6 separate regions of the Homo sapiens genome follow, and regions 1, 2, 3, 5 and 6 are each linked to region 4. Evidence: promoter capture Hi-C in 16 types of primary human blood cells and fetal thymus (Javierre and others, 2016). All regions are on one chromosome and are shown on one strand. Each heading gives the region's core, a stretch centred on a gene start or on the middle of the fragment in contact. The rest is flanking DNA. Distances are from core to core; before and after follow the strand shown.

Region 1 (3,859 bases), core at 912-3,411, 180 kb after region 4:
TTGACGGCTGAAACCAACTGGCCAATATTGCTTTTTAAAGGGATCAGATAAATGCCATACATCATATGACTAGCATTTTCAGGGGTGGGGCATACATTACAGATGACTTGAGTGTGAGGGCCCAACTGATGAGCCACTGCCATTTGAATCCTACCTTAGTACTGATGGTTTTTCTTTATTTTTCCTTTCCTAATTAAAAACGTGTGGCATTTATGATAGTTCAGAGCAGCAGAATGCTTCCTTTATGGATACAAGCTCTTTGCTAAGATGGCTTTGCAGGCTCCTTGAGGCGAGACAGCGTGGGAGCCTTGGCAGTGGGCAGCACTGGCTTCCTCACCCTTGTGGGTGGTTTTGTGCAGGCTGAGGCCGTGAGGCATTGGGCAAGCACTTCCTACGTGGGGTTGCCAACTGTTTCTTTGGGCCAGATTTAACTGATAGTCATTGTATTAGTCTGTTTTCACGCTACTGATAAAGACATACCTGAGACTGGGAAATTTACAAAAGAAAGAGATTTAATTGGACTTACTGTTCTACATGGCTAAGGGGGCCTCACAATCATAGCAGAAGGCAAGGAGGAGGAAAGGCATGTCTTACATGGATGGCAGCAGGCAAAGAGAGAGATAACTTGTGCAGGGGAACTCCTCTTTTTAAAACCATCAGAGCTCATGAAACTTATTCACTATCATGAGAACAGCACAGGAAAGACCCGCCCCCCCATAATTCAATCACCTCCCACCAGGTTCCTCTCACTGGGAATTGTGGGAGTTACAATTCAAGATGAGATTTGGGTGGGGACATAGCCAAACCATATCAGACATGTTTGGTTTGGACTGCACAGTGTTTATTTATTTATTTTTTGAGACAGAGTCTGTCTCTCTCATCCAGGCTGGAGTGTAGTGGTGAGATCTCAGCTCGCTGCAACCTCTGCCTCCCAGATTCAAGCAATTCTTGTGCCTCAGCCTCCCAAGTAGCTGGGATTACAGGCACACACCACCATGCCTGGCTAATTTTTTTTGTATTTTTAGTAGAGACGAGGTTTCTCCATGTTGGCCAGGTTGGCCTCAAACTCCTGGCCTCAAGTGATCCATTCACCTCAGCCCCACAAAATGATGGGATTACAGACATGTGTCACCATGCCTGGTCTAGACTGCATAGTATTTTAAAAGTTAGGCATTGGCTGGGCACAATGGCTTACACCTGTAATCCCAAGACTTTGGGAGGCCGAGGCGGGTGGATCCCTTGAGCTCAGGAGTTTGAGACCAGCCTGGGCAACATGGTGAGACTCCCATCTTTATTTTTCTATTTTATTTTAAAAAGTTAGGCATAAAAATCTGTGTTTCCAGCTTCCTTTGAATCAGAATCTGGTCATATTAGGCCTGAGATGACTGGCGGGGGCCAAGCAACCCTGTACATGGGCCATGCATCCCCCAGTTGGCGGGTCCCCACAGTCCCTGTTCTTTATACAAGGCCTATCTCACTCCTTTGCCTTACTGGCCATGCCTTTGTGGACATTTCCATTTTAAATCTTCCCATGCCACTTTCTGCTTTCCCCATGCCCCTCTGGTCAGGCTGTTGGGTGCCCATGGGTAAAGGGGGTTGCCACCAAAGCATTATCTCCTTCACTCTCCTCTGTGATTTTTCCAGGCTCTCATTCCTTCTCCTATCTTGACTGCCTGTTATCCCAGGATTCTTGTTGCCGATTTCAGGCTTCTGGATCCTGGGGAGAGGGGAAGGGGCAGGCCGGGGTTTGGTCCTGACTGTCAGTAGAGGAGACACACATTCTCATTGGCTCCTCATGCTCCCTGGCAGAAGGTGTAGGTGGGACAAGGCTGGGCCTGCAGCAGGAGGGACGACCACCACAGCACATGTGTGTGCAGCCTCAGCAGCCCCAGGAGCCAGGATCACCCCCCACATCACGTGTCATAAAGTCCAAGCTTGCCACACCCTCTCATGGCCCTTGTCATGAAGGGCTAATCTGAGGACTTTATAGCAGAGTCTTAGGAGGAATATCTGGGGATTCGCTATGGCCAGGAATCTCTCCTTTCCCCATGTTTTTTGGAGAGCCTGCCCTCACCAGTTCAGACTGAGAGGCTCATTCCCCCCACGTAACCAGCACAGCAGAGTCAGTCCATTTGGCAGGCTTAGTGTGAGATCTTAAAGCAAGCTAAAAGAGCTATTCGAGGCGCTCGATGGTTTGGGAAAATTAATCCCCCGAGAAGTTCTTTTTGCCCAGTGGTAAAATCCAGGACTGCATGAAGAGCAGAGCCCAGGAGGGCTTCTCTCAGGCTGCAAAGTGCACGGGTGTCACCTGGGCATCTTGTTATGATGCAGACTCTGGCTCAGTGGGGCCAGGAGGGGCCTGAGACTCTGCATTTCTAACAAGCTTCTGGGGGATGCTGATGCTGCTGCTCCCTTGGCTCCGCCTTGAGTAGCAGGACTGGTCCAGAGCAGGGCTTCTCAAGCTATCTGTGGCGAAGGACTTCTAAAAAGATGTCCAATTCTGAAATGGACCAATGATTTCATTAAAAACAATGCAACAGAAATGCTATGCAAAATGAAATCAAAAGACATATAAATGGCCAGGCGCGGTGGTTCACGCCTGTAATCCCAGCACTTTGGGAGGCCAAGGCAGACAGATCACCTGAGGTCAGGAGTTCGAGACCAGCCTGGCCAATATGGTGAAACCCTGTCTCTACTAAACAGAGAAAAATTTGCCGGGTGTGGTGGCAGGTGTCTGTAATCTCAGCTACTAGGGAGGCTGAGGCATGAGAATCGCTTGAACCTGGGAAGGTGGAGGTTGCAGTGAGCTGAGGTCATACCACTGCACTGCAGCCTGGGTGACAGAGTGAAGCTCTGTCTCAAAAAAAAAAAAAAAAAAAAAAAAAGTGTATAAAGTATCGGCCTTAAGGTTTTTTTTGTTTGTTTTGTTTTGTGTGTGTGTGTGTTTTTTTTTTTTTTTGAGACAGAGCCTTGCCTCTGTTGCCCAGGCTGGAGTGCAGTGGTGTGATCTTGGTTCACTGCAACCTCTGCCTCCTGGGTTCAAGTGATTCTCCTGCCTCAGCCTCTTGAGTAACTGGAACTACAGGCACCCACCACCACTCCTGGCTAATTTTTGTATTTTTAGTAGAGGCGGGGTTTCACCATGTTGGCCAGGCTGGTCTCAAACTCCTTACCTTGTGATCCACCCACCTCGGCCTCCCAAAGCGTTGAGATTACAGGCGTGAGCCACCGCGCCCAGCTAAGTTTTATTATTATTATTATTGTTATTATTATTATCAGCTTCAACAGACATAAAATGACTCCATCCAATTGCTATAAATATTTACTCTTGGTTTTTGTGACTTGTCTCGTTGGGACTGGTAGCAAACAGTTCACTGCCCAGCACTGGACCACTGAGTCCACCCTGTCCCCAGAGATTCTCACTAGGTAGAGCTAGGGCAAGAGAGCTGGGGAGACCCTTGGGCCCAACACCCTACGGGGATCTGAGAGGGAGAGGGGACAATGACCGGCTTCCCGTTTCAGGCAGAAACCACTGTCTATGTTATTGTGAGATGTAAGCTGGATGACAGGGTGGCGACAGAAGCAGAGTTTTCTCCTGAGGATTCTCCCTCTGTAAGGATGGAAGCCAAGGTGGAGAATGAGTACACCATTTCAGTGAAGGCTCCCAGTAAGTAGTCCCCTGTGAATGTGATGACATAGGGCTTCATTGCTTATTTGCTATGCTGTCACCAATGCCACCAATGCCAGGTATTATCATCTTAAATATGTTTGCTACTTTGATTTTTTTTTTTTGAGACAGAGTCTCGCTCTGTCTCCCAGGCTGGAGTGCAGTGGCATGATCTCAGCTCACTGCAAGCTC
Region 2 (4,429 bases), core at 1,868-4,367, 210 kb after region 4:
TGGCCATGTTGTCTGGGTATTAAGCACTCCAAGGGGGTAGCCACTACCATCCAACGGGCCATCATCCCAGCCAAGCTCTCCATTGGACCCGCACAGAGAGGCTACAGGGGGAACAAGATCAGCAAGCCCCACACCAGCCTTTGCAACGTGACAGGCCACTGGCTCTGTGCTGGTGTGTGTGCCTCATCCCTGCCCCCAGGGGCACTAAGCATCATCTTGGCCTCTGTGCCCAAGAAGCTGCTGCTGATGGCTGCTACGCCTTGGCCAGGGACCGCACTGCCACCCTGGGCCACCTTTGATGCCATCTCTAAGACTGCTAGCAACTGGATCCCTGACCTCTGGAAAGAGACTGTATTCACCAAGTTTCCCTACCAGGAATTCACTGACCATCTCTCAAGACCCACACCAGAGTCTCTAAGCAGAAGACGCAGGTTCCAGCTGTGGCTACAACGTACGGTTTTCTTACCAGAAAAATGAAATGAATGAAGCCTGTTAAAAATAATAATAATAGTTAAGACTTGGGAGAGTCAGCAGATTTCACGCCTCCCTTAAATGTTGCAGCCTTGTCTACTTCAGTGTGATAGGCCTTGGAATTATTAGCTGCATTCTTCTCCCCTGATTTTATGTTGTATCTCCCCCTTCTTGGCCACATGTAATTGTTCTTTTGAGAAGAGTCCTCTTGAGCCTGTGACCAGCCTCATTAACCGTACACTTCTGGTGAGTGGTCCCCAGTGGGGGAGCTGTCAAGCTGAGTTTTGCCATCCTTTCCAGGGCCGCCCGTCAGACCATGGAGGGACAGGCCCCAGTCGAGTATATATGACCCTTTTGCGGGAATGAAAACGCCAGGCCAGCGGCAGCTTATCACCCTCCAGGAGCAGGTGAAGCTGGGCATTGTCAACGTGGATGAGGCTGTGCTCCACTTCAAAGAGTGGCAGCTCAACCAGAAGAAACGATCGGAGTCCTTTCGTTTCCAGCAGGTAACTAGCTTCGTATGGAATTTGTTTCATGTCTATTTCCCCACTTGACAGTAGAGGAGGGCTGGGCCATGGCTGTCTTGTGTATTGCTGTACCTGGACACCTGTGGCTGTGCCTGCGAATGTTTGAGTTTCATTGTGAACCAGTGAGTGTGTATGAGTGTCACCTCGGTCTGTAACCACATGGCTCCCTGGCTGAGAGCTGGGTAGCTTTTCCAGGTACCATGAGGCTTGAGATCAGGAACAAAGACTCAACTACAAACACTAACTCTGCTGCTGTGTCTCTCTGCATTTGGCTCCCTGCTTCTGCTTTCCAGCTTTTTTCTTTTCAGAGTCTCTCTCTCTCTATTCCTACTGCCAAATACCCTCATAACTATCACACTTTATGACTCAAAGAGAACTTGGAAAACTCCCAAGAAATATGATTAAATGAACAAAACAAGTTGCAGATACAAAACCACCCAAATTAAAACAACTCAGACACGTCCACACACAAACTCTGTATTTCTATGGACATGTATATAAATGCAAGGACAAAGATCTGGAAACGGCCACTTCGGGCCCATTCCAGGGGCCACCTCTCAGGAGAAGACTGGGATTGGAGGACTGGGGTGTCAGAGGAGACTCTTGCTCTACCTGTATAGTTTGAAGCTTTTATGAGAATATATAACTCCATACCTGTATCATAAGTGTACATGATGTATAATTAAAAACAAAAAAAGAACTCAAACTTAACCTTAGGAAGCTCATTCTTAGTCCACCAATGCCTTTGTATTAAAAAGGAGGAAATGGGGCTCAGGAGGTTAAGGGACACGTCCAAGGCATCTTTCCTAGTGAGGGGCCGAGTCAGGACTGGAACTATTGCTTTCTCTCTCCACCTCCCCAGGCTGCTTCCTTCAAAGTACTAGCCAGGCCCGACCCTGCTTACCCTCAGAGATCAGATGGGATTGGGCGCGTTCAGGGTGTTATGGCTATAGACCCTGGTGGTGTGTATTCTAATCTCTGTTCTTACGCTATCTGACATACCAGCTGTCAAGGCGGGGAGTAAGCAGCACCCGTCCAGGGCTGAGATAGGAGCCTGTCTTCTGGGACAGGATTAGTGGTGAAGAGTGGGGAAGCATGTCATCAGGCCGCATTTGCTGACCTCCGACAGTGCTATGTTAGGCATTGTGCTCAGCGTTAAATAGACCTGATCTCTTTCACTCCTCATACACGCATATGAAATAAGTATTACTCCTCCTGTTCTACAGAAAACTGAGGCTCAGAGAGGCGAAGAGGCAGTCAAGGTTCAAACCTCCCCTTTCTCACCCCAGAGCCTGTGCTCCCTTCACTATGCCTTCTGCCTTTTTAGTGCTCCTTAAGACAGGGGCACCTGCTCTGCCAGCTGCCTCCCTCCCTTTTGGGGCCTGAAGGGTGGGAGGGCACTCTGGAGAGCTGAATGCAGGAATCACGGGTGCTTTTCACTCAGGAGCCCCTGGGAGGCTGCAGTCCTGCTGAGAAAAGGCTGGCCCTGGCTAAACAATGTTTTTTTGCTCCTTGCCAAGTTGTGCAACCACGTGGCACAGTAGTTAAGAACAGCCAGGGCTCTAGAGCTGGCAGCCTGAATTTACATCTTTATTCTGCTATTTGATGACCTTGACCTTGCTGTGCCTCATATGAAAGGGGAGGACTAGGTGATATAAGCTACTGTAAGCAGCATAACTGGTACGTAGTAAATACATAATAAATGTTAGCTCTCTTTCTTTTTTTCTTTTTTTTTTTTTTTACATTTTCTTGTAGTGTAAGGTAATTGCTAATATGAGGTATAATCTGTAAGCAATTAATACAAATATAAATAGGTATAAGCCACCACTAACTCAGTCTGCTGGAAAGCTTCTCAGCTAAAGTAGTTTGAGGATAAGGTTAAGGGAAATGAGAAGGGGTGGACAGGGCAGGTTTCCAGTGGGAACATAATTTACGTGTCTTATCATTACCATCATCCTGTATGTACCAGTCCATTGTTGCAGAAAGGTAAATCCTTTCCAAGTATGGTTTTTTTGTTATCGTTGTTGTTGTTATACTTTAAGTTCTAGGGTACATGTGCACAACGTGCAGGTTTTTTACATAGGTATACATGTGCCATGTCTTTCTGTGTTTCTATCCAAGAGACCTCTTCCCTTCCCATGAGCTGGTCCAGAACTCTTGGGCATAGCAGACGACGGGTTTATATTTAATACGGCAGAATCCCAGCTCATGGGGGCTCACATTGTTTGGTTCCCTGAGAGCCTCTAGCCACTTCCTGAGCATCTCCCCTTCAGGGGCTGGTGGTGTGGAGACATTCCTGGGTGGAGGCCTCATCTTCCTTTTCCTCTGCCTCTCTGTCCACTCCTCTGTCTCCTTCACGTCACCCTCTCACAATGGACATTGAAGCTTTCCTTCAGCTCCTTCTCTGTGCAGTCTGTGTCTCCAGTTCCATGTTTCCAGCCCCAGTTGGCTTTGTCCCCCTGAGTGCCCCAGGCTCACAGCATGTCTAACAACAAACCATCCCTCAAGGCCGCTTTCCTTTCCCAACAGCCTCTCTGTGCTCATCACAGAGGAGAGGGAGATCAGACCTCAGAGTCTCTTTGGCCTTCTCCCGTGCTTCCGCTCACCCAGTCAGCGGTGTGTCCTGCTTGGTCCTGCTCTGCGGCATTTGTCCTCTTGCATCTGCTCCTGTCTCTCCATTCCCCCAGCCACATCCCCATGTCAGCTTCTGTTGCCTGCATCTGGCATACTCCATAGTCTCCAGGAAGGTCTGCTGGCCTCTGTTCCTTCTTCTCTAGTTCACTAGAACCTTAAATCCATGACAAGCTCACAGTGTTCAGTGTTTCCCTGCTGTCTCCTGGACACAGGTGAGTCTCTTCAGCCTGCAGCTGCAGACCAACCCCCCTTTCCAGTTTGGCCTCCTGTGACTCCCCAACATGAACCTTCTGCTCCAGCCAGATTGTCTGGACATTTTCCCTAGAATGCTCAGGCACTTAACTTCGGCGTTATTGTTAATTGACTAAAATAGCAACAATCTTGACCCTTACATGTCTATTCAACATTTATTGAATGACTACAATGGGCCAGATGGCAGGATTATGGAAAGGTACACGACGTGGTCTCTTGACCTTGAAGAGCTCACAGTATCTCAAAGAGGCAAGGCACAAGAGTGTGCACACATGATGGAGCAGCATAGCCCAAGTGCTGGATGGTTGGCATATCTGGGGAGGCTTCAGGGAGAAAGTGGGCCTTGATCCAGACTCATGGAGAAGAACCAACATCCATGAAGGTCAGGGGAGTGATGTGAGAACACAGTCTCAGAGACAGGAATACCTGTGGAGTATTTGTGAGCTGGGCTAAGAGGCATACATGAGAGGGGTCATATAGAACAGAGCTGAGAACCAGAGGGGAGGAAAGACACTTTCTTGTGGAAGAGATGTCTTCTCTTCAGG
Region 3 (4,373 bases), core at 770-3,269, 190 kb after region 4:
ATGACTACATTACTGGTTTGCTTATGAAACATACTGTCTCTCCTATCTGCATCCTTTTCTCTCAGGAGCCTCCCTCCCTGTGACTGCTGAGGCTCTGTCATCCTCCTGCCATCCCTTTTGGCAAGATTCTGGCGAGTAGAGCCAAGAGATGCTTCAAGGCCCGTGGGCCTGGGTGCACAGCATGAGTTCTTACCTGCAAGGACAGAACCCACTGGGGAGCAGGGAGATGAGCTCAGTGTACCTCTTGACTTCCTGTTGCTTTTTGCTCCTCCATAAATACAAGAACTATGTTGGGGACATAGGGACTTAGTGAAAGCACACTGGATTGAATGTTTTAACATTTAAAGATAAAATCCCCATCGACAGCAGCAACCTTGCTCCCCTCTGAACCTGCACAGCTTGCAGGTCACGCTTACCTTGGGACACTGCACACACATCCCCTTGGGCTCTAGTTATATACGTGCTTCTCTGGTTACCCTCTCCTGGCCTCGATAGGAAGCATGTCTTACAGCTTTGTATCATCCACAGTGCCTATCCCAGTGCTGTACACAATAGGTGTTCAGCGATTTCTTGAATTTGAGCTACCAGAAAATAAGATGTAATTCTCGACTTTGTGGGTGGAATAGTGTGTCAGTATTCCAGTGTAAAGACCTCACCCACCTGATAGGTGGTACTGAGACATCTGTTAGGTGTCCCCGAGTGTGAGACATCTCAGGGTGGCAGTAACTCCATTGGTCACTACAAGCTGCCTTTTCTTTCATGTTCCCTTGCATTTGACTCTTCCTTCTGCCTAAATTGCCTTTCTCTTTTCTCGGCTTGAGAAATGCCCAGATTCCTTCACAAAGCCCAAATGCCTTCATATTCATGTGTTCATTTGTTTTTCCTTTATTAGTTCGTTCATTCATTCATTCAAAAATATTTTTCAAACCTCTCATGTGTTTAAATCACGCTGTGCCAGGTGATGATGAGTCAGTAAACAAGCTGGCATGAAACTTGCCTTTCAAAGCTTACATTCTAGTGAGAGAGCTGAATATTAAACAAAAACACCACATAACTGAATATATAACCACAAACTGTGACAGTGCTGTGGAGGAAAAAGACACTGCTTTGAGAATGCAGGTGGGACTGTGTTCAGGTGGGCTACCGCGTGCGACTCACTGCACAGCACCACAAATGCATCCCATAGACTCACTCCTGCATGGCAGAGGGTCTTTGTGCTTGCCAGGGGTACTGTACTGAGGCATTTGTCTGCATAAGAAAACCACAGAACTTGTTTGCAGCTTCTCCTAAACTATTTATCCGCAGCCCCTTCTTCATTGCCAATGCCAGCCATCACTCATTAGCCCTCTAATTTTACACTGCTATTCGTGTGTGTGTGTGTGTGTGTGTGTGTCTGTGTGTGTGTGTGTCTGTGTGTGTGTCTTAGTCCGTTTTCTGTTGCCATAACAGAACACCATGGACTGGGTAATTTGTAAAGAAAATAAGTTTATTTAGCTCACAATTCTGGAGGCTGGGAAGTCCAAGAGCATGGTGCTGGCATCTTGTGCATCATAACATTGTGGAAAGTATTCACATGGCAAAAGGGCAAGAGCAGGAGAGCCAGAGAGGTCTTGCTATTACAACAAAGCTACTCCTGTGATAACAAACCCACTCTCACGATAGCAACATTAATCCATTCATGAGGATGGAGGGATTAAGTTTCCAACACATGAAATTTTGGGGCACACATTCAAATCATGGCACTCTGCTCCTAGCCTCCAAAATTTGTGTCCTTCTCACATGCAAAATACATTCATTCCATTCCAGTTGCCCCAAAACTCTTAACTCGTTCCAGCATCAACTCAGAAGTCCAAAGTACGTAGCCCAAAGGCCTCAGAACCAGGAAGCTGATTGTGTAACTCTCAGTCTGAGCTCGAAAGCCTGAGAACCCAAGGGGAGAGCAGCTAGTGTATGTCCTGTAGTCCAAAGGGTGGAGAGCCTGGAGTTTGATGTCCAACCAGGAGTAGAAGAGTGTATGGCAGTGTATGCCAGCCCCTGGGGAGAGACCAGTTTGCCTTTTGTCTGTTTTTGCTCTATTAGGGCCCTCAGCTGATTAGATGATGCCTGCCTACCTTGAGGGTGGATCTTTTCTACTCGCATGCTCCTTTTCTGGAAACACCCTCACTCTAGGTATTTCCTAATATAGTCAATTTGGCACCCAAAATTGACCATCATAGGCCACGCATGGTGGCTCATGCCTGTAATCTCAGCACTTTGGGAGGCCAAAGTGGGCAGATCGCTTGAGTATAGTAGTTCAAGATCAGCCTGGGCAACATGGCGAAAACCCACTTCTAAAAAATTTTTTTTAAATTAGCCAGGCATGGTGGTGCATGCCTGTAGTTAAGGAGGCTCAGGTGGGAGGATCGCCTGGGAAATCAAGGCTGCAGTGGGCCGTGATTGCACCACTGCACTCCAGCCTGGGTGACAGAGTGGGACCCTGAATCAAAAAATAAAATAACTATCACAGAGTGTGTGTGTGTGTGTGTGTGTGTGTGTGTGTGTGTGTGTGTGATTGTATATCTCTCCCACATCTTCCTCTCCCTCTTTCTTCCATCCCATTAATTCTTTAGGGTACAGAAAAGCTAGACTTTCTTACTGACATGGTCAGTCAAACCATTCTACCTGGAGGCAAACTGACCCATTGTGTTCCAGGTTCTCTTCAAATGTTTGGCTACGATGCTCCTTGCTCTAAGGCTCTCTTTTTGGCCACAAAAGATTCTTGCTGGAGAAAAAAATTCTTTTGGCCTACTTTCAGGGTTTGAAAGCCTTTCTAGAAGAATAGTCTTTCAGTAGCTGACATTTCACTGTGTTATATACTCACTTGGTTTTCTATTAAATTAACAGCATATAATCTGGATGGAGTTTCCACTGCAGCTAAGTGGTCTGTGTCCCAGGAGGAGTATCATATGGGTGTCTTTGAGAATTCACTATTGCTGTTGATTCATTCTTTAATTAAGTGCCTGCCTGGGTGTTCTCTCACTGTTCAAGCTTCTTGCATTCCAGGAGTGGGTTCTTTCTGGCTGACTCCTCAAGTACAGTGCAGTGTGACTCTATAGCTGGCTTTTCCAGAAGGAGGCTGTGGCCCCAGAGTCTCCTTATCATTGTTGTTGTTTTTCTTTGCTGAAATGAAAGAACTTTGCACTTTCTCCTCAGACCGGCAGGTTTCAGTACATGTTGGTTTATTTTTAATTTGCAAGTCATGAAGTTTAAGTGCTTGGGATCTGAAGTACAAGCCCTGAGCATCCAGGAATGCAGGGATTTGTTCTGATTTCCCTCCCAAAATGCTCTTTGTCTAGAAACAGACTCCCTTCACTTAACAGAGTTTTCTGTGTAGTTCACTGTATGCCCGGGTTATGTGTACATGTGGGGTTGTCATATTTAGAGCCTGAGAGGGTTTTATCACTCATTAACTCCAGGTAACCAGGTACCTTTTAAAAAAGTGTTATTACAAAGATAATATGTGCTACTACCAGGACTTAGTGCCTAATTAGGTATGGAAAAGAGCATTTTAAAAATAATTTCACATGCCAAGGCCAGTTGGCCAGTATTTTTTTCTTTTATAATTTTTTTTAATTTTTGTATTATTTTATTTATTTATTTATTTTTTCTGAGACGGAGTCTTGCTCTGTCACCCAGACTAGAGTGCAGTGGCACAATCTTGGCTCACTGCAACCTCTGCCTCCCGGGTTCAAGCAGTTTTCCTGCCTATCCTCTCTTTAGCTGAGATTACTGGTGCACGCCACCACGCCTGGCTAATTTTGTTGTTGTTGTTGTTTGTTTTTAGTAGAGACGGGGTTTTACCATGTTGGCCAGGCTGGTCTCAAACTCCTGACCTCATGATCCACCCCCCTCGGCCTCCCAAAGTGCTGGGATTACAGGCGTGAGCCACCGTGCCCGGCCTAGTTTTCTTTTTCTTTTTTTGAGATGGAGTCTCGCTCTGTTGCCCAGGCTGGAGTGCCGTCGTGCAATCTCAGCTCACTGCAACCTCTGTCTCCTGGGTTCAAGCAATTCTCCTGCCTCAGCCTCCCAAGTGGCTGGGACCACAGGCGCCCACCACCACACCCAGCTAATTTTTGTATTTTTAGTAGAAATGGGGTTTTGCCATGTTGGCCAGGCTAGTCTTGAACTCCTGACGTCAGGTGATCCTCCTGTCTTGGCCTCCCAAAGTGCTGGGATTACAGACATGAGTCAGCGCACCTGTAATAAATACTGGCCCCAGTTGGCCAGTATTGAGTGCCTGGGTGCTGTGTTGAAAAGGACAGAAAGAATGCTATGATTGGTAGTGATGTTTGCCACGAAAATGGAATAGGGGCACGGAGGCCCATGTATGGCAT
Region 4 (4,072 bases), core at 741-3,240:
ATTTGCACAAGCATATGTTTGAAAATGCACTTTTAACCTTTGGACAACCAAACTGGTATCAGATACCTTAAAGCATTGTTGCCTATATTAATTTCGGTGTTACAGTCTAAATCCTTAACGAAACTCACGCTATACATTTTCGTAATGAAACCCTGTAGAAATGGAAAGGCGTATATTCTTTAAGTAAAGGTTACCTGATTTTTCACTTGTTTAAAGTTTCAATTTTGCTTTTTAATCTATTATCGAAAACATCCCTTGTGGGACATTGTAAAGGGCAGACCCTCCTGTCAAGCCAGAAGGCTCAAACACAAAGACACTGAGCTAACCAAGTGCTGTAATTCTTCCAAACTGAGCCTCTCCACACCCCCTCCACCCTTCCCCCCAACAGATATGTCTATTAAATCAGTGTCTGTTCTCCCCCTCGCACAACAAAGAGAACTTCTCACCGCATGAAATTGCCGCTGAATGGACACCAGAAAGCAGGATTTGCATAATTCCTTCCAACGAAACCCTGTCGGGAAGGAGGGAATGAGGGGCCCAAGCGAACGGATAGACTCTCCTAGATTCTGCCGGGAAAGACCTGGTTCCCAAGAATATTCCCCTGGGGGAGAAGGGGCTGGAATTCTGGGCCTCCCCGAGGACTGGGCGTGGGGGACAGCGGACGACGAGAGGGCATCTCCCCACACACCAGCAGCACCGAAGCAAAGACGGGGAAGTAACAATGCTGGAGGACAGGAGAGTCAGACACAAGGATGGACTGGGGCTAGGGGGCGGCGGGCGGAGCGGAGACACCACACGGGCCACTTACTTTTTGGAGGGGGGTTAAATATATGAGTTAAGCCCTTATGGTCCCGCCGGCCGCCGCACAGAGGGAAACGGGACCTTGGGAGAGAAAAACAGACAAAACACACAGTGTGAGAGGCGCAGCTCGGCCGCCCGGCCCCTCCCGGGGCGCCCCCGTCCGCGCTCCCTCCGGCCCGCAGGGAAAAAGCCACCCGAGGGCGGCCCAAGGTCCGGGAGGCGGGGGGCGGACGGGGCATTCGGGCGAGGCTGCGGCTCCGGCCAATCCCCGGGAGGGGACGAGAGCGACCCCCGCCGGGGCTCCTCGGTCGGACCCGGTCCCACCCCCTCCTCCCGCAGCACGACACCGAACACAAATACGCACACACCGACCCGTGCGTCGAGGATTAACTCCCCGGCCACCGCCGCCCGCTGAGGAAGTGCAGCCGCTGCCCCCCGCGGCCATGACACCCCACTTGGCTCGGTCAGGCGCACCCGGGGACTGTGACAGCTCCAGCTCCCTCCGCCCCCATCTCCACCTCACGCTTCGCACACGCCCGAGCGCCGGGCGCCCGCCTGCAGCCCGCCGCGCGTGCACGCAGACCCGGGGGCGCGCCCCGCGCGTGGGGGAGGGGTGGCGCAGGAGGAGGACGGCGGCGGCCACAGCGCGGGTGGGGGCCGAGCACGCCCGCGCCCCTCGCGCCTCCCCCAGTACAGCGGCAGCGCCGCGAGGCGAGTCGCCACAATAAGCCGGCGGCGGCGCCGGGGCGCCGGGCCTGGAGCGGGAGCAGGGGCGGGAGCGGGGAGGGAGGGGAGCGAGCAGGCGGGGATGGAGAGCGGGAGGGGGAGGAACCCGCGCTCCCGCCGAGAGCCAGCCCCGGGGAGGCGCGCGGAGGGGAGGGGCCGGCGCGCGCTCGGCCGAGCAGGGGAGCCCGCCTGGAGGTCGCGCGCGCTCACACTCCGGGGGGTGGGGGAAGGGGGGACGCTCGAGCCAAAGAGGGCGGGCGGGCCGGAGCAGCAATTGCCACTTCCCCAGCTTCCTCCCTGGTCTGGGGCGACCGGCGGCGGGGCGGCCGGAGGGGCGGCGGCGGTCGGCGGAGGGTCTCACCTACACAGTGAATGAGCTTGTGGCGCCACGAATCCAGTTCTTGCCGAAAGCCGCGTCTCTCAACGGAGCATTGCTGCCGCCTACACACCCTCGCCATCTTCTGCCGCCCGCCCGGCCCAGCCTCCGCCGCGGCCCCGCGCACGCCCAGCCGCGTCGCCCGGGGCCGCGCACGCACCCGCGGCCCGGGCGTCGCGCCTCCTGCCGGGGGCGGTGCGGGGGCAGGGCCGGCCTCACCTCACCGTGGCCCCGGCGTGGCCCGGGGGCGGCCTGGGCCCGCTCACCCGCCCCGCGCGCCGCCCGCCGGGCTGCGATCCCGCCGTCCTTCTACGCGGCTGCCGCCGCCTCTGGCCGCCCGGGACGGCGCCTTCCCACAGCCGGAAGTCAGTCCCGCTGGCCCCGCGCCGCCTTCGCACTGTCCCCCAAGGCCACGGCTGCCCCCGCCCTCCCCGGGGCTTTTTGTTTTTTACGCCAGCCCCATTTATCACTTCCAACCTGCCTATCGCCCGGCACCAACTGTTGCAAGTTCCGTAATAACTGCTGCTATGAACTTCTCCGTCGAAACTGCTCCTCCCCAGAGCCTGTTTAAGAAGCAGAAATAAGAATAAATTCCCGGATGCCGGTGGATGCACTGACCTCTAAGATTTTCAAAGGTGAAGTGGATACACGTTATTAAGTCATTGGGAGACATCGCCAACATTGGGAAACCTAGTAAAAAGTGGAAATCGAGCGTTTTAAATAAAAAAAAAAAAAGGTTTCTACTAGCAAGACTGATCGTAGGCGAACTTCTCAAGGAATTTTGGAATATTGTGCCAAAGTGAGAATATTTAATATTTCCAAAAGTAGACTTAACTAGGAATACTTAAAGCAGAGACTATTGGAAATGCTTTAATTTGGGATTTCAGGAAAGGGCTTGAAGAGAAATATTTTATATGAGCAAGCCTCTTGGAATAATTGAATCACCTTAATTTTGTCACTGTTACTTCGAAGAGAACGAGAAGAGAGAAGATGGGAAACGAAAGGAGAAAGGGAAAAGAAATGGGGTGGAAAGAAAAAAGCAGAAGAGATCGCCCTATACCAGTAGGCCTAGTACCCTAGGATTCTGGCCTCTTTCTCCCACCTTTGGTGTTTAAGATTAAGGACAGTGCATTCCTGCTTTTAGAAATTTAAATTTAAGTTTGAAGACTTAATTTTAATTACTGTAGTAGGTAAAGCAAAGTCGTTAAATACTTGACATCAGGATCCCATTGGAGTATTGATTTAGGTCTTTTCAAAGGTGGTGGTCCTGGTTCTCTGCACCAGCCACTGGCGGAATGGCGGAATGGTGTATCTACCAATGAACAGATGGACTGGGTGGGCCTCGGGTACGGGTGGCTTGAGATGCAAATGCAAGGGTAGGAAGGCACCTTCCCCCCCACCACTCCCAGCCCACCCCGCCAATCTTAAAACATTGATCTTTATAAAATTCGCAAACGTCCCACAGGATTTCATTGGCTTAAGAGTATTGTCAAATGAAGACGCCAGGAAGTATTGAGTTTCTGGGTACATAATACTGTCCTGAGTGTTGAAGGAAGAGGACTAATACGAGATTTTAAAAAATGGCTGTGGACAACCATCCTTCAGGTGTGATGGCAGGACATCTTGTATCACCTGAAACTTCCTTTTTTCGCCGCTAGGTGGTGGGTGTGAGTCTTTTGCGGCCTTTAAGTTTCTACGGTGTTTGGAGGAAATACGTTTCAGTTTCAAATAAATGAACAACGTGTAACTCTAAGATGAGTAAATAATCAATGTGTTTTCCAACCACCCCAAGTTAATTTGTTTAAAAAACAATCAAACCAAGGGTAATAATTCCTCGACATAATCTCTTAGTCCCAGACATATGGATTCAGAGAATCCTAGAGGCTTCAGAGATCAATTTTGTAACTTAAGATATGAAATTGGAAGCCCAGACAAGTAAGGTGATTTGACCAAGATTACATAGTTGCTGGGTAGAGAAAGGGCAACAAAAGCCAGGAGACAAGTTTCCCAATTTCCAATTTAATGCTAGTTTTACTACTCTACTCTGAGTTCCAATTTCTGCTTCACTTATTTTGAGTTGGGAACTAACTCATGGTTGACCTATCACAAAGACCTATTTGGAAGAAAGGATAGGGAGGCAATAGTAACAGCTAATATTCATTGAGCACC
Region 5 (3,909 bases), core at 732-3,231, 230 kb after region 4:
TTGGGGCCAGATTGTCTTCCTCAGTGCCTCAGTGACTTCAGGAAGAAATGGAAAGCTGCCAGGTATGGCTGGGTTGATTATCAATTTGCAAACAACCTTCAGCCCCAGCCTAAGGAGGACCAAGGGGCTTTTGAGTTACGGTTGTCCAGCTATGCTGGTTGCTGAATGTAGTTTTCGCCTTTCTTTCTCATCTTCTTTGCTGTAGGATAATGAAGTCCCTGAGGTTACCAGAAGTCGCAGTCCAGGCCCCCCACAAGTGGATGGGACACCCACCATGTCCCTCGAGAGACCCCCCAGGGTGCCTCCGAGAGCTGCCTCACAGAGGTAACATCAAAACTGATATGAAATTTTTCCCTTATCTCTGAATCCTAGGGGAGAATAGGACTTGGAAACACCTAAGATGACTAAAGAATAAGCGCAGAGCTGGGCGCAGTGGCTCATGCCTGTAATCCCAGCACTTTGGGAGGCCAAGGCGGGCGGATCACAGGGTCCAGAGATCAAGACCATCCTGGCTAACATGGTGATACCCCATCTCTACTAAAAATACAAAAAATTAGCCGAGCATGATGGCACACGCCTGTAGTCCCAGCCACTCAGAAGGCTTAGGCAGGAGAATTGCTTGAACCCGGGAGGCAGAGGTTGCAGTGAGCCGAGATCATGCCACTGCACTCTAGCCTGGGTGACAGAGAGAAACTGTCTCAAAAAAAAGAATAAGTACAGAGCTAATTGAAATGCCTACTCCATTGGACACATTTCAATGTGGACCCTTCATTAATTTAAGTGATGCATTATTTAGTTGCAAATACTTTAAATAGCAAATGCAATGTTTCATAAATGAAATACATTGAAAAATGTCAACTTTTAAAATTGTTTTTATCAGTTTGGCTAGAATTCAACTCTCCAATAACTAATTCCCTTGGCTGGACTGTAGGGACAGTGCCTTTTGGGGAACAGAAAATATGAAGGAATTGGAAATGAAAATGCAGGTGACAGGCTACATCGTATGGTGGTGGGAAGCCTGACTCTAGAGCCCCCCTACCTGGGGTCAAGTCTCCAGCAGCTATTTGCAAACTTGCAAGAACTATTTAACTTTCATGTATTTCAATTTCCTTTTTTTTTTTTTTTTTTTTGAGATAGATTCTTGTTCTGTTACCCAGGCTGGAGTGCAGTGGTGTGATCTCGGCTCACTGCAACCTCCGCCTCCTGGGTTCAAGTGATTCTCCTGCCTCAGCCTTCCGAGTAGCTGGGATTACAGGTACCTGCCACCACGCCTGGCTAATTTTTGTGTTTTTAGTAGAGACAGGGTTTCGCCATTTTGACTAGGCTGGCCTCGAACTCCTGACTTCAGGTAATCTGCTCGCCTCAGCCTCCCAAAGTGCTGGGATTACAGACATGAGCCACCATGCCCAGCCTCAATTTCCTTGTCTATAAAATGAGGATAATAACAGAACTTTCTGCAGAATCATAAGCATTGAGTTCTTGGCCTATAGTGAGAACTCAGCAATATAAGTGATCTTTTTTTTTATACAGGAGAGGAGTTAATATCTAGAGATTTGGAGATGAGCATTAGACTAAAGAATTTGACTAATTTACTAGATTTTGATGTATGCCTTTGTTTATATGATACTTGGGCCTCTGGTAGGAACCTTTTTATGGTTCAGTCTTGTGGAGTAACGGAAAAAGTGGTCACAGCTAGCTGTGTGTCCACAGATGCAGAAAGGAGCCCTTGGGAATAAAAGCCAAGGCTTGTCTGAGGAGTTAACTCTTCGATGTTTAAAATAAAATGTTCATGTGTTAATGGGGCATAAGGAAGGAGGAAGCTTTTCTTCAACCAGGGTTTTGTTTTGATTTTTGCATTTTGAAACTTTTAGATGAAGCTCATCAGTGGAATTTGTTGAGAAAGTGCAACAAGGAGGTCTTTCTTCTGGTGTTCTGGAAAGAGAGGCTGGCTCTGTGCTAAGGATCTTTCCATTTCTCCCTTTGCTATTTATCACTTTCTCATGCGCTCCCAGCAACATTTGTGTGTTGGCACTTGCTACTCAAACATCGCCCAGGCCCAGGCTGTGCCACACCCACCGGGCATGCTTTCCTGGTGTAGACTGGAAGGCACGGATTAGAATATTAGTCCTGGAAGGAAGCTTAGCAGTAATCTAGTCCCATCCCCTGAATTTGCACTGTGCTCTGTTGCTTGAAAATTATCACATAGTTGGTGATTGGAGGGCTTACCAAGAGCAGTGATGGTGATAAATGCTGTTATTTATTGAGACTTACTATGTGGCAGGTATTCCGTTAAACATACTAAATGCATTATCCTGTTTAATTCTCTCCACAATCCTAAGACGTAGGTATTTAGTGTTATCCCATTTTGCAGATGTAGAAACTGGGGCTTGAGATTGGGCTGAGACTTGCTGTGTGTGGCAAACCTGCCAGACTTCATCTCATAGGCATTGTTTTATACCTCTCCAAGAAAGTCTCAGTATTAGGGGAGGAGGTTCAAGATCCAAGGCCTTTTATTCCTGAAGGTGAGGACTTTGGAAGCAGTTGTCTAATTGTACCAAGATAAAAGAGTTGTCAAGTTTAAAACTTTAGCTACAAGGTTTCGGTGGGATTTTGTTAACAGAAGAGAAAGAGAAGACAACCGGGGAAACAGGTTCCAAAAATTAAAGGATAGAAACTAGGAAGCATGTAAATGTGTAAAAAGAGATGGTGGTTGAGTTGTTTGGGGAGTCTGGAAGCAAGTTGTGATAGAGATGGGGAGAGAAAAGGAGGAAAACATTTTTTGCTAAAGAAACAATGTTTACGAAGCAGTTTGTAATTGATAGAACTTGGGGTTTGGGTGCATTTTTGGTGTGAAAAAAGATGTGTGAGTATGCAATGTTCACAATAAAATACGGGGATATTTGAGCAGATAATAAAATGGGACTCTCTCCAGAATGACTTCAATGTTTGACCTGCTTATAGACAGGATTGAAGGCTGGCCTTGGTGTCCTAGACTCCACTGTCAGATCTGGGCATCAGCATCTCTTCTCTGCCCGTGTTCTAACCTCCCTGCTAACCCCTGGCCCAAACCAAACAGCACTGGTAGTACAGCCTCCATCCCACTCCATCCCGGTTCTGGTCCTTGCCTCTGCTCACTCTACATGCTATCCCAGAGCTTGAATTGCCACCAGCAGACAAAGACCCCAAGTCTCCATCTCCATCTCAGCCTTCTCTTTCCTGCAGTTGACTGGGGATCTTCATTCAGGGACCCCACCAATATCTCAAACATAGCCTGTGCAAAACTGAACTCATCAGCCCACCTACCATTCTCTACCCCAAACTGCCTTCTTCTCATGAGTTCCCAGCCTGAGATAGTGGGACCATTCTCTCCCTTCCCCAAGCCCCAAACCTGGGAGTCATCCTTGATCCCTGCCCCCCTCACAGCTCTCATATCCAGTGTGTCTTCATGCTCTGTCCGTTCTGCTGCTCTTTCAGCTGTCAGATCCGCCCTCCTTTCCATCTGCTAGTGCCTAAGTTCATTCTTGAAGGCCCACACTTACCTCCCTTCCTCCAGTCACTCCCTCCTCCACATTGCAGCCAGAGTGCCCTTTCTAGAACAGGAATAGCTGATGATGCCATTGCCTGGCATAAAAGCCTTCACGTTTAATTCTGTGTATTTCAGCATTCTTTGGCTCTGCCTAGCTCAAGTCCTGCCCCTCTCCTGTATTCACCGATGATCTGCCACTTCAGCATTCCCAGTGAGCTCTGCCACTCTGTACTGTTTCTTTGCCCAATCTGTTCCTTTTGCCTGGAATGCTGTCTTCCTACTCCCTTCTACTCTTGCTTAGAAAATTCCTATACATCCTTTAGGACTCAGTTCAAACATCACCTCCTCTGTGAAGCCCTCCCTAATGTTCCCATGCGAGTGAA
Region 6 (4,277 bases), core at 753-3,252, 160 kb after region 4:
CTCTTCCCCTACAGGGGTCTGTGTCTCTACTTTTGGAAGGTTGTTGAACCTGAACAAAGAGGAAATAAACTATATTGTGACTGCAGGGTTGGCAAAACACTACATACAAAGGACTACAATATCATGAAAAGGAAAAGTGAAAAGGAGGAAGGTGTTGAGGCAGTGGGCACAGAGGCTCAGAGGAGTGGTGGAGAGGTGGGTCATAGGTTGCAAGATCCCAAGGAAGGAATTTTCTACCTGTTTTAACCCATGCTCCCTTTTGACTCACACCCTCCTTCTATAGTGCATTTATTAAAATAATAGTTTAAAATTTTAATTATAGTATAGGCCAGGTACAGTGGTTCAAGCCTATAATCCCAGCACATTGGGAGATCAAGGTGGGAGGATCCATGGAGCCCAGGAGTTCGAGACCAACCTGGGAAACATGGATAAACCCTGCCTTTACAAAAAAAATTTTTTTTGAGACAGGATCTCACTCTGTCACCCAGGCTGGAGTGCAGTGGTGTGATCTCGACTCATTGCAACCTCCGCCTCCTGGGTTCAAGCGATTCTCTTGCCTCAGCCTCCCTAGTAGCTGGAACTACAGGTGTGTGCCACCACGCCTAGCTAATTTTTTGTATTTTTAGTAGAGACGGGGTTTCATCATGTTGGCCAGGCTGGTCTCGAACTCCTGACCTCAGATGATCTGCCCACTTCGGCCTCCCAAAGTGCTGGGATTACAGGCATGAACCACTGTGCCCAGCCTACAATTTTTTTTAATTTAAATTAGCTGGATGTGGTGGCATATGCCTGTAGTCCTAACTACTCGGGAGGCTGAGGTAGGAGGATCATTTGAGCCCAGGAGGTCGAGGCTGCAGTGAGCCATGATCACACCACTACACTCCAGTTTTGGCAATAGAGCAAGCAAGACTTTGTCTCTAAAAATAAATAAATAAATAAAATTGTAATATAATATTGGCTATGCTTCTAAAAGCTACACAATTTCTCTATTCTAATTCATCATTCTGGCAAGACCTTTGCAAAAACTCTCACCTCCCTCTGAGGTGATGAGAACCCCTGGGACAGATTCTTCTTGATCCTGATCCCAATGTTGATTAGGTTTCCAGTGGTTTCTATAACTGTACCTAAATGAACAGTGAAAACCATGTTTTGTCCTCACGCTTGTGATTCTAAACCGGAAAGTGTGTTGTCTCACTTCATATCTTGTATTGCACGTGACCAAACTGTGTTTGTTGGAGATAAATGTTTACAGAAGGTCAAAGGCCTTTTGTGTGTGTGTGTGTGTGTGTGTGTGTGTGTGTGTGTGTGTGTGTGTGTATGTGCTTAGTGAGGAGGTAGTTAGCAAGGCCAGTGGACTTAAAGAGCATCGGGGCAGGACAGACCCTCAGAAATCACATAGTTATTTTCCACTCTGTCTTAATACAGAGGAAGACAACTGGACTCTGCCAGGGGAAGTGGCTCACCCAAGGCCAAGTGGTGAATGGTGGGTTTTTGAACAGTTGACCTCGGGATATGAGTGTGAGAACGCCCAAGTTTTACTTCAGGGTATCATTTCTTAAAGAATTTGGATTTGCAAAGAAACCAAACATGATTGGTTTTTCAATTGGTGGGAAGGATAAATGCAAACAAGAGGCAAAAGAAGGTGTTGTGTTGAGGCTAGTTACTGAGTTTGCCAATACTTTTATGTGTCACGGGGGCAGAAGATGGCTGAATCGGTGTTTCTCCCTGATGATGGCAGTTCCCCCTCTCAAACACTGGGCATGTCTGGCATCAGGTGGGCTCAGCCCTTCCTCACTCTGGCTTGGAGGACCAGTGGAGAAAAACAAACCGTGTTCAGAGATGGGCTCGGTGCTCCTGCTGGAGGCTGTGTGAAGAGTGGGCGGCCTGTTCTCCTGCCCTGAGGCTTTCCCTCCACCCCAGCATGACCCCCTCTTTCCTCAGATGGAAAGGCCTAGTTTGGCTTGGTTGGGAGGGTTCAGTCCGTCCTTGAGTCTGTGCCCTATGCTGTCCAATCTCAGGTTGACACCGGCAGCTCAAGGGTTAGATTCCAGCTCAATACGGAAACTTAAAACTCCCTAGAAAAGAAGTCCCTGTGGAATGGAGATGATTATTCTGGAAGATACAACTTGACCAGCTTTGTAAGCTGTTAATTATTAAACAAAATCAATGTTTTTAAGTTTAATTTGGACTCTTTCAGTTGGAATAACTCAAGGTCATTCTTTCAAAAAAAAAAAAAAAAAACCCCAGAAAATCCCCGTGTGTGTTTTTGGTGACCTTCTTGGAAAAGGGAGTTGGAAAAAAGGCCTCTAAGGCAACAGTGAAAGAGGTAAGAGCCTGGCTTCCATGTGTCTGGAGTTCCTTATGTCTGGATTCTTGGTCATTTCTGTCACTAAGACCTGAGGATCAGCAAGGCTGGGAGAGGCCCGAGCTGGCTCAGTTGGGGCCATGAAATCTGTAATGACCTCGGGTCATAGCCAGCCCAACAAGGGGACACTCTGTGACTCTGGTAAGATGTAGGGGCCACCGGCCAGCAGTAGCCAGCAATGACCACTATCAGTTGGCCAAAGTCAAAAAAAAAAAAAAAAAAGCAAGGTCACACAGATAAAGACAAGCAAAGAGTCCTGAGATAGGTGCTTACAATGGATACAGCATAGCAGAGTCTTGTCTCTCAGAGCCTGAGGATGATCCTGTTCTTGGGGTGAAAGTTCCTGAGAATGCTTGCTTTCAGACACAGATGTGGCTTCACAGCTGGCATGGGACAGGCTGAGGACACTGCCAGTGAACCACGGCAAACAGAAGACAGGAGAGGAGTTGTGGTTGTAGGTAGATTCTGGCACAATGCAACCCACCCTGGCAACCCCTCATGGAAAGAGCCAAACTGGGAAAGTCCCTCTGACCTTTCATTTGTAGGCAAACTGGTTTGGTTGTTTGAATTGTGATACTGCCAAACTATGGTTTTAGGCCATGTCCCACGTCCCTATGATGGCCTTATACAATTCTAATACGAGTATGCAACAGTGGGGGCTGTTCTTAGGTCCTAACTGCTAATAGAAGTACTTTGTGAATAATAAATTATTATTATTGTTATTAATATTAACAGAGAAATGACAGCTTCCTTTTATTGAGCACTTACTATGTGGCAGACACAGTGTTCAACAATAACAGTCCTGAGAGGTAGGAATTATAATCTCTATTTTATAAATAAGGAAAATGAGGCTTTAGGAGATCAAGTAACTTGCCCAAGATAGCCATCCAGTAATAGCAGGGACTCAATTCATTTACATGGACCCTAAACTCCATGCTTTGAAGCACTGCCATGTATGTGGTGGCCATGAGAATATGCCTGGCAGATCTCCAGTTGCTGGGAGTAGAACCGACCAAGGGCTCCTGTGCCACCCTCTGAATCCATCATAGCTTTCGACCAAGGCCCTGCTTCCTGCAGGCTGCTCCCAGTCAATAACTGAGCATGGCAGGGATACTAGGCCCATTTCCGGAAGACGCAAGATTTGCCAGTGGCCAACTTCTGTTTGAAGACTCCGTGACAGATTTGCACAACTTTCCTTAGCCTGCTCAGTGGTCTAGGACGCTTCCACCCAACCTTCCTTCCCCCTCTTATTCATTTGGGCTCAGACAGCTACAAGGTTTTCCCACCCTCCCTCCCCATTTTCCTTCCCAGGCACTTTCCCTGACAAAATCCTTATATGGCCGGGTGCAGTGGCTCACACCTGTAATCCTAGCGCTTTGGGTGGCTGAGGCAGGCAGATCACCTGAGGTCAGGGGTTCAAGGCCAGCCTGGTCAACATGGTGAAAACCCATCTCTGCTAAAAATACAACAATTAGCTGGGCGTGGTGACACATGCCTGTAATCCCATCTACTCAGGAGGCTGTGGCAGGAGAATTGCTTGAACCCAGGAGGTGGAGGTTGCAGTGAACCGTGATTGCAGAACTGCATTCCAGCCTGGGCGACAGAGTGAGACTCCGTCTCAAAAAACAAAACAAAACAAAACACCTTGTATGTTTAATCTCATTTTAGCTTTTGTTTCTCGGAAGACTGGGACTAACACAGTGTACCATGCAGAATTTTCAGCGAAGCTTGGTTCACGCTGGTATCATAAATTAGAGGGTTAAACAGTTTCCTGTTTCTCTCCAGATTCCACACTAAAAGCCTCCAGGCACAAAGCCTTACAGTGGTCCTCCCTGAGGTGTTGCTTTCCCTGCTAGTAACTTAGGTGGTTGGTCTTATCTCATTCATCGATTCATCCATTCATGCAAGAAGT

What was found. The method cuts DNA at HindIII sites, captures the fragments that hold promoters and counts their contacts. A CHiCAGO score of 5 or more calls a contact.
Region 1: a fragment that was not itself captured here is called in contact with the fragment with the promoter of LCOR in region 4 in 4 of 17 cell types (naive B cells, neutrophils, total B cells and 1 more); the score reaches 7.6 in naive B cells.
Region 2: a fragment that was not itself captured here is called in contact with the fragment with the promoter of LCOR in region 4 in 2 of 17 cell types (neutrophils and total B cells); the score reaches 6.4 in neutrophils.
Region 3: a contact is called between a fragment that was not itself captured here and the fragment with the promoter of LCOR in region 4, in 12 of 17 cell types (naive B cells, total B cells, neutrophils and 9 more). The highest score is 22.0, in naive B cells.
Region 5: a fragment that was not itself captured here is called in contact with the fragment with the promoter of LCOR in region 4 in 4 of 17 cell types (total B cells, naive B cells, total CD8 T cells and 1 more); the score reaches 8.1 in total B cells.
Region 6: a contact is called between a fragment that was not itself captured here and the fragment with the promoter of LCOR in region 4, in 4 of 17 cell types (neutrophils, total B cells, naive B cells and 1 more). The highest score is 6.0, in neutrophils.

The regions. Positions count from the first base shown.
Region 1 is chr10:96,652,506-96,656,364 of GRCh38, reverse strand. PIK3AP1 (phosphoinositide-3-kinase adaptor protein 1) reads left to right here. Exons shown (of 17, transcript NM_152309.3): 4 at 3,523-3,667. Among named protein-coding and RNA genes, the nearest start is that of PIK3AP1, 66 kb to the left of the region's middle. The HindIII fragment of the contact is 449 bases long and covers 1,937-2,385 here.
Region 2 is chr10:96,616,900-96,621,328 of GRCh38, reverse strand. It overlaps PIK3AP1 (phosphoinositide-3-kinase adaptor protein 1), which reads left to right. Exons shown (of 17, transcript NM_152309.3): 12 at 772-977. It also overlaps the pseudogene RNA5SP324 and the pseudogene RPS2P36. Among named protein-coding and RNA genes, the nearest start is that of TM9SF3, 32 kb to the right of the region's middle. The HindIII fragment of the contact is 537 bases long and covers 2,849-3,385 here.
Region 3 is chr10:96,635,492-96,639,864 of GRCh38, reverse strand. All of the region lies in intron 8 of PIK3AP1 (phosphoinositide-3-kinase adaptor protein 1), which reads left to right. Among named protein-coding and RNA genes, the nearest start is that of TM9SF3, 51 kb to the right of the region's middle. The HindIII fragment of the contact is 2,021 bases long and covers 1,009-3,029 here.
Region 4 is chr10:96,830,216-96,834,287 of GRCh38, reverse strand. LCOR (ligand dependent nuclear receptor corepressor) reads right to left here and starts at 1,990. Exons shown (of 8, transcript NM_001346516.2): 1 at 1,889-1,990; 2 at 809-882. It overlaps LOC102723665 (a long non-coding RNA gene), which reads left to right and starts at 1,830. Exons shown (of 1, transcript NR_135921.1): 1 at 1,830-3,656. RefSeq lists enhancers at 37-750, 751-1,466, 1,467-2,181, silencers at 928-1,167, 1,208-1,267, 1,308-2,027, 2,038-2,087, 2,108-2,407 and a cis regulatory region at 3,443-3,642. The HindIII fragment of the contact is 14,888 bases long and covers 1-4,072 here.
Region 5 is chr10:96,598,695-96,602,603 of GRCh38, reverse strand. PIK3AP1 (phosphoinositide-3-kinase adaptor protein 1) reads left to right here. Exons shown (of 17, transcript NM_152309.3): 16 at 206-324. The region is part of intron 2 of LOC105378443 (a long non-coding RNA gene); the gene reads right to left. Among named protein-coding and RNA genes, the nearest start is that of TM9SF3, 14 kb to the right of the region's middle. The HindIII fragment of the contact is 318 bases long and covers 1,823-2,140 here.
Region 6 is chr10:96,674,619-96,678,895 of GRCh38, reverse strand. All of the region lies in intron 2 of PIK3AP1 (phosphoinositide-3-kinase adaptor protein 1), which reads left to right. Among named protein-coding and RNA genes, the nearest start is that of PIK3AP1, 44 kb to the left of the region's middle. RefSeq lists an enhancer at 1-119. The HindIII fragment of the contact is 4,185 bases long and covers 1-4,094 here.